2 separate regions of the Homo sapiens genome follow, and region 1 is linked to region 2. The links are contacts of gene promoters, found by promoter capture Hi-C in human tissues and cell types (Jung and others, 2019). All regions are on one chromosome and are shown on one strand. The core of a region is centred on a gene start or on the middle of the fragment in contact, and the rest is flanking DNA. Distances in the headings are between cores, read along the strand shown.

Region 1 (2,706 bases), core at 121-2,620, 270 kb after region 2:
CCAGAACTGCAGCTTGACCACTATATATATAATATATATACTTTATATATATTATAGCTATATATTTTTTTGAGATGGAGTCTTGCTCTGTTGCTCAGACTGGAGTGCAGTGGCACGATCATAGCTCACTCCAGACTCAACCTCCTGGGCTTACGCCATCCTCCTGCCTCAGCCTCCCCAGTAGCTGAGACTACAGGTGCATGACCACCACACTTGGCTAATTTTTAAATTTTTTGTAGAGACGCGGTGTCACTGTGTTGCCCAGGCTGGTCTCCAACTCCTGGCCTCAAGCAATCCTCCCACCTCAGCCTTCCAAAATGCTGGGATCACAGGTGTGAGCCATGGTGACTTGGCTTCATATTTTGAATAGGCCAAAACAAAACTCCGAAATCCCCTTACTCCTATCCCCACGACCCCACACAGCAGGTTTCTCTCGCTCTGCAGCAACCCACTTACCTCTCGGAAATCATCCCAGGCCTGTTCGGAGTGCACGCAGCCCCGTTAGCCTCCCTGGCTGCTCCTGTAACCAGCCCAGCTCTGCCTGAGAGGTTCCGCTATTCCCTCCGTCTGGAATACCCACCACTCTCTCCCACCCCGCGCTTGCATCCGGCAATACTGTATCAGCCTCAGGGCCTCTGCTGTCCCGCTTTCTGCTCTCAGAGCCTTTGTCACTGGGCTGGAAGAGCAGTTGGGAAAATTCGGTGATAAATGCATAGCCCGGGGCTGGGACCATCAAGGGGACCCAGTAAGTTGGCTCCAGAAAGAGGACTTGAAGCTTCGTTTGCATTGCACGTTATTTAATATTGAGGAAAATGTAATTAGCCCGTATCTAAGAATTGGGGTGACAGCGCTAAAGATTGAACCCACCCACCTCCCACTCCTCACCTCCAGCCATAAGCCACTTCCGGACAAGGCTAAAAATGCGTAAAACAATGCAACTACTCGCCACCTATCCCTGCCCAAGTTCCAGCCTCTGAGCCTCAAGCCCCACGCCCTCCTAAATATCCCCGCCCCCGCTGGGACCCCAAATTGCCTATAGCTCTGCAAGTCCGCCCTTCCCGGCAGCGGGACCGAAAGGGTAAAGCAGAGGCTCCCGGCTCGCTGAGTGACAGCATGGCCGGCGGCCGGGGAGAGCCGACCAATCAGGGAGGGCGTACGCGACCCACGTGCGTAAACGGCCTCGCTATTGGCCGGCGCCGCCAGAGGCCTGCCCCCCCCGGAGCCCGAACCCACGTGCAGCTACTGCGCCTTCATTGATCTGCTTCGCGGTCCAGGTGGCGGCTGGGTGGGGCCTGGGCGGGACGGGGCGGGGACAAGGCGGGACGAGGCGGGGCCCGATGGGTCAAATGGCCCCCGGTGGGGGAAGGAGGAGTTTCCTCTTGGCCTGAACTTGGCTGACCTCCGCAGCTTCCGCCCGGTGAGGGACGTGAGTTGCCAGGCGTGTTCTAGGGGGCTGGGGGGACTCCAGGATTCCCGGCCGGGGAAGGGGCTGCAGGGGCGTGGAGGGGCAGGACTGAGGCAAGGAAGAAGCTGGGTGCTGCAGCAGGGATGGAGGTGGAGAGAGGTCGTTTCTTCTGTCTGATGAATTCCGCCTAATGCACCTGGCTAACTCCTAGTCATCCTTCAAAACCCCTTTCTAGTGATCTCCCTGCGCTTTAGGAAATTGTCTCAAAACTAAGGTTGAGCTTTGGCGACCTTCCCTGGGCTCCCCCGTCCCTGACTGCCCCCAGCAGGGAGTGTATGTGCACTATCCACCCCAGCCTCCTAGGGTGAGGCCTGGGAGGCAAGGCTCAGTTCTTTCTGGGTCCCCGCCCCCATGAATCTGGGCAGCTGGAGGCATTGATAAGTGAGGACAGGACCTAGGGAACGCATGGGAGAACCGCAGGATTGGGTCCCTGGAGACTTACCAAACTGGGAGGTGCGGGTGGGGTAACGGGTGCCTTGCTTCCCTGGCACTGCCTTATTTTCTGTCCCTCAAGACCTGCCGTCTCCTTGTTGTTTTAGACTCTGGCTAAAGTCTTGGAGGCTACTGCCTTGAAGATGACCTCTAGGGACCAGCCCAGACCCAAGGGCCCCCCGAAAAGCACTTCGGTGAGGAGGGCATGTGGTGGGATCAGCCCTCAAGGGAAACCCGGGCCCAATGTGGTTCTGCCCCTTTTCCACCTGTGACCTGGGCTGGCCCCGCCCAGGCCTCGCAGCTGAAGACAATACTGGTCGCTGCTACACTCAAGACAGGTGCCAAGGAGCCGTGTTTTTTAAAAAAAATTAAGTGTAGGCTGGACACTGTGGCTCACAACTGTAATCTCAACATTTTTGGAGGCCGAGGCAGGAGGACCACTTGAGCCCAGGAGTTTGAAACCAGCCTGGACAACGTAGTGAGACCCTGTCTCTGTAAAAAATAAAACTAGAAGAATCAGCTGGGCCTAGTGACGTGGGCCTGTAGTTGCAGCTACTTGGGAGGCTGAGGCAGAGGGTTGGCTTGAGCCCAAGGAGTTTGAGGCTGCAGTGAACTATGATGGTGCCACTGCACTCCATCCTTGGTGACAGTGAGATCCCATCTAAAAAAAAATGTAGCATCTAATCACATATGTGATAAAAACACAGGAACACATCATGTATTTGGTTGATGTTTTACAAGCAATCCCCGCTCCCTGCACTTTGCGTCCCAGAGATGACCATTTGTAAATTTAGGCTCTCAGGGCTGAG
Region 2 (2,722 bases), core at 215-2,714:
ATCTCCCCCAAAAGTAGAGGGGTGAGTCCTCTCCAAATTCCTTTTAACTGGATCCTACCTGAGACACCTCCCCACACCCCGTTTTCCTCCTGATTAGTCAATGTCTAGCAAAACACCTGCCCCCAGGTGTCTCCAGCCTGGGACCTTACCCCCACCTCCCTTCTCACTAACTCACCCCAACTTCCTTCTCCCTGAACCCCCTTCCACCCCACACACTCACAAGCTCCCCATTTCCCCTGATAGCCCCCAGACCCTTTCTGGAACAAGCCTGACCCCCACCTGTATGCTCCAGCCACTCCCTGGCTCACCCCAGCTTTGTCCTTCTGCCCCTTTTCAGCTAACCCTAACCCCTGGGCCGTCAATCACACCCCCCCATCTTCACCAACCCCATTCCTCAGTCCTCTCCCCAGACAACCTCAACATCTAATTCCCTCTGCAGCCCCCTCTCCAATGAACCCCACTTCAAACTCCATCCCCAGCCCCCTCTCCAGCTCCCTGCAAACCTCAACCCCACTCCCAGCTCCCTCTTCAAAGAAGCTGCACCCTTGACTCAACCCCTGTTCCCCGCTCCAATTAACCTCAACCCCCAACACCATCCCCAGCGTCCTCCCCAGCTAACTCAGATTTCCAATTCCACTTCCAGCCCCCTCCCCAGCTAACCTCGACCTACAATTCCAGCCCCCTCCCCAGCTAGCTTGGACCTCCAATCCCACTCCAAGCCCCCTCGGCAGCTAACCTCGACCTGCGACTCTAGCCCCCTCCCCAGCAAACTCAAGACCTCCAATTCCACCACCAGCCCCTTCCTAGCTAACCTGGACCTGCAATTCCAGACCCCTCCCCAGCCAACTCAGACCTCCAATCCCGCTCCAAGCTCCCTCCCCAGCTAACCTCGACCTGCAACTCCAGTCCCCTCCCCAGATAACTCAGACCTCCAGTCTCACCCCCAGCCCCCTCCTCAGCTAACTCAGACCTCCAATCCCACCTCCAGCCCCCTCCCCAGCTAACCTGGACCTGCAACTCCAGCCTCCTCCCCAGCTGGCCCTGATTTCTAAGTGGAGTCCCAATGCCCAGACCCAATCCTTCCCCAGCTAACCTCGATCTGCACCCCCTGCCCCGTCCCCAGCTAACCTCGACCTGCAACTCCCGCCCCCTCCCCAGCTAGCCCTGAGCCCCAAGTGCAGTCCCAATCCCCAACCCCAGCCCCTCCCCAGCTAACTTCGACCCCCTAAGCGCAGCCCCGTCCCCAATTCCAACCCCAGCCTCCAGTTGCAGCCCGGGTCCCCAGACCCAGCCCCCCTCCTCAGCCGACTCCGACCCCCAACTCGGTCCGCAGCCGAATCCGAGCTGTCCCAGTCCCCTCTCCGGGACGCCGGCCGCGCCCTCACTTCCCCTGGCCCGGTTCGCGGGCGCCCTTACCTGCGCTCGGGCCCCGCGGCCGCCTCAGCCCCGCCGCGCAGCCGAACCCTCCGCCCCGGCCCGCGAGCGCTCGCTCCCCTCTGCGGGGGCGGGGCCGACACTCGGGGGGCGGGCCCTGGCGTCCCGGCAAGGCCAATCGCGAGCCCCGGCTGCGGGAGGCCGGAGCGGGGGCGGGGCGCGGGGCAGGCAGCGGGGTAGGCTGCGCCCAGGAGAGTGGGGCGGGGCTCCGGGCGCGGGCGGGGCCGGGGGCGGGGCGAAGAGCGGCTTTCCAGGGTGACTTCGTGACGTCAGGAAGGCGCGAGTAGTTTCGCGAGTTCGAATCCCGCGCTAGGTGAGCTGGTTCGAATCCTGCATGCCAGCTCCGGGGGCTCATTTGCTGGGGAAGAATGTCAGTGATCATAACTGCTGCACCGCTTTCTTGAAGACTTTATAGGCTCCCTCTCGTGGGACCCTCCGCATAAGGCCAGAAGGCGAGATTACTATCCACATTTTACAGAGGTGGAAACTGGGTCTCAGAAAGGTGAAACCTAAGGTCATTTGCCCAAGCCTGTCTCATCATTTCCAAGATTTCTCAGTTTCCTAACTCATGGCCCTGGATCCACAAATTCCTGAGCCCCAACACAGATGGAATGAACCAGAATCCTATAGGGAACTGGACCCTGAAATCTGTGTTTTGTTTAGTTTTCGTTTTGTTTTTGAGACAGGGTATCACTCAATTGCCGTGGCTGGACTGCAGTGGTGCAGTCATAGCTCACTGCAGCTTTGAAGTCCCAGGCTCAAGCAGTCCTTCCACCTCAGCCTTCCGGGTAGCTGGGGCCACAGGCACGCACCACCACATCCAGCTAATTTTTGTATTATTAGTAGAGACAGGGTTTCACCGTTTTGGCCAGGCTGGTCTCCAACTCCTGACCTCAGGTGATCCACCTTTCTTGGCCTCCCATAGTGCTGGGATTACAGGCGTGAGCCACCGTGCCTGGCCCTGGCTAATTTTTTTTTGTTAGAGATGGGGTCTTGCTATGTTGCCCAAACTGGTCTTGAACTCCTGGGCTCAAGTGATTCTCCTGCCTCTGCCTCCCAAAATGCTTGGATTACAGGCCTGGAATCTTCATTTTCCACAAGCTCCCTTGGGAATATTGGAAAACACTTTGTATGTCTCCAAAAGCAGTACACAGCCCTGGAAGGAAGATGGAGCCACCATATTCTGTGACCTCAGGGATTTCATCAGGCGCTGACACTGTGTGTCCTTGCCGCCCCACCTGAGCCCTGGGATTGGAGCTGCTGGCCAAAATCCAAGATAAACTTCCCC

The links. The method cuts DNA at HindIII sites, captures the fragments that hold promoters and counts their contacts. A contact is called where the count stands out against the background at its distance.
Region 1: the fragment with the promoter of TLE6 here is called in contact with the fragment with the promoter of GNG7 in region 2 in 2 of the 25 tissues and cell types used here (adrenal gland and dorsolateral prefrontal cortex).

The regions. Positions count from the first base shown.
Region 1 is chr19:2,976,194-2,978,899 of GRCh38, forward strand. It overlaps TLE6 (TLE family member 6, subcortical maternal complex member), which reads left to right and starts at 1,371. Exons shown (of 17, transcript NM_001143986.2): 1 at 1,371-1,417; 2 at 2,005-2,091. The coding sequence starts at 2,041. RefSeq lists a silencer at 1,093-1,402. The HindIII fragment of the contact is 31,192 bases long and covers 1-2,706 here.
Region 2 is chr19:2,701,230-2,703,951 of GRCh38, forward strand. It overlaps GNG7 (G protein subunit gamma 7), which reads right to left and starts at 1,465. Exons shown (of 5, transcript NM_052847.3): 1 at 1,417-1,465. RefSeq lists a silencer at 1,361-1,750. The HindIII fragment of the contact is 6,266 bases long and covers 1-2,722 here.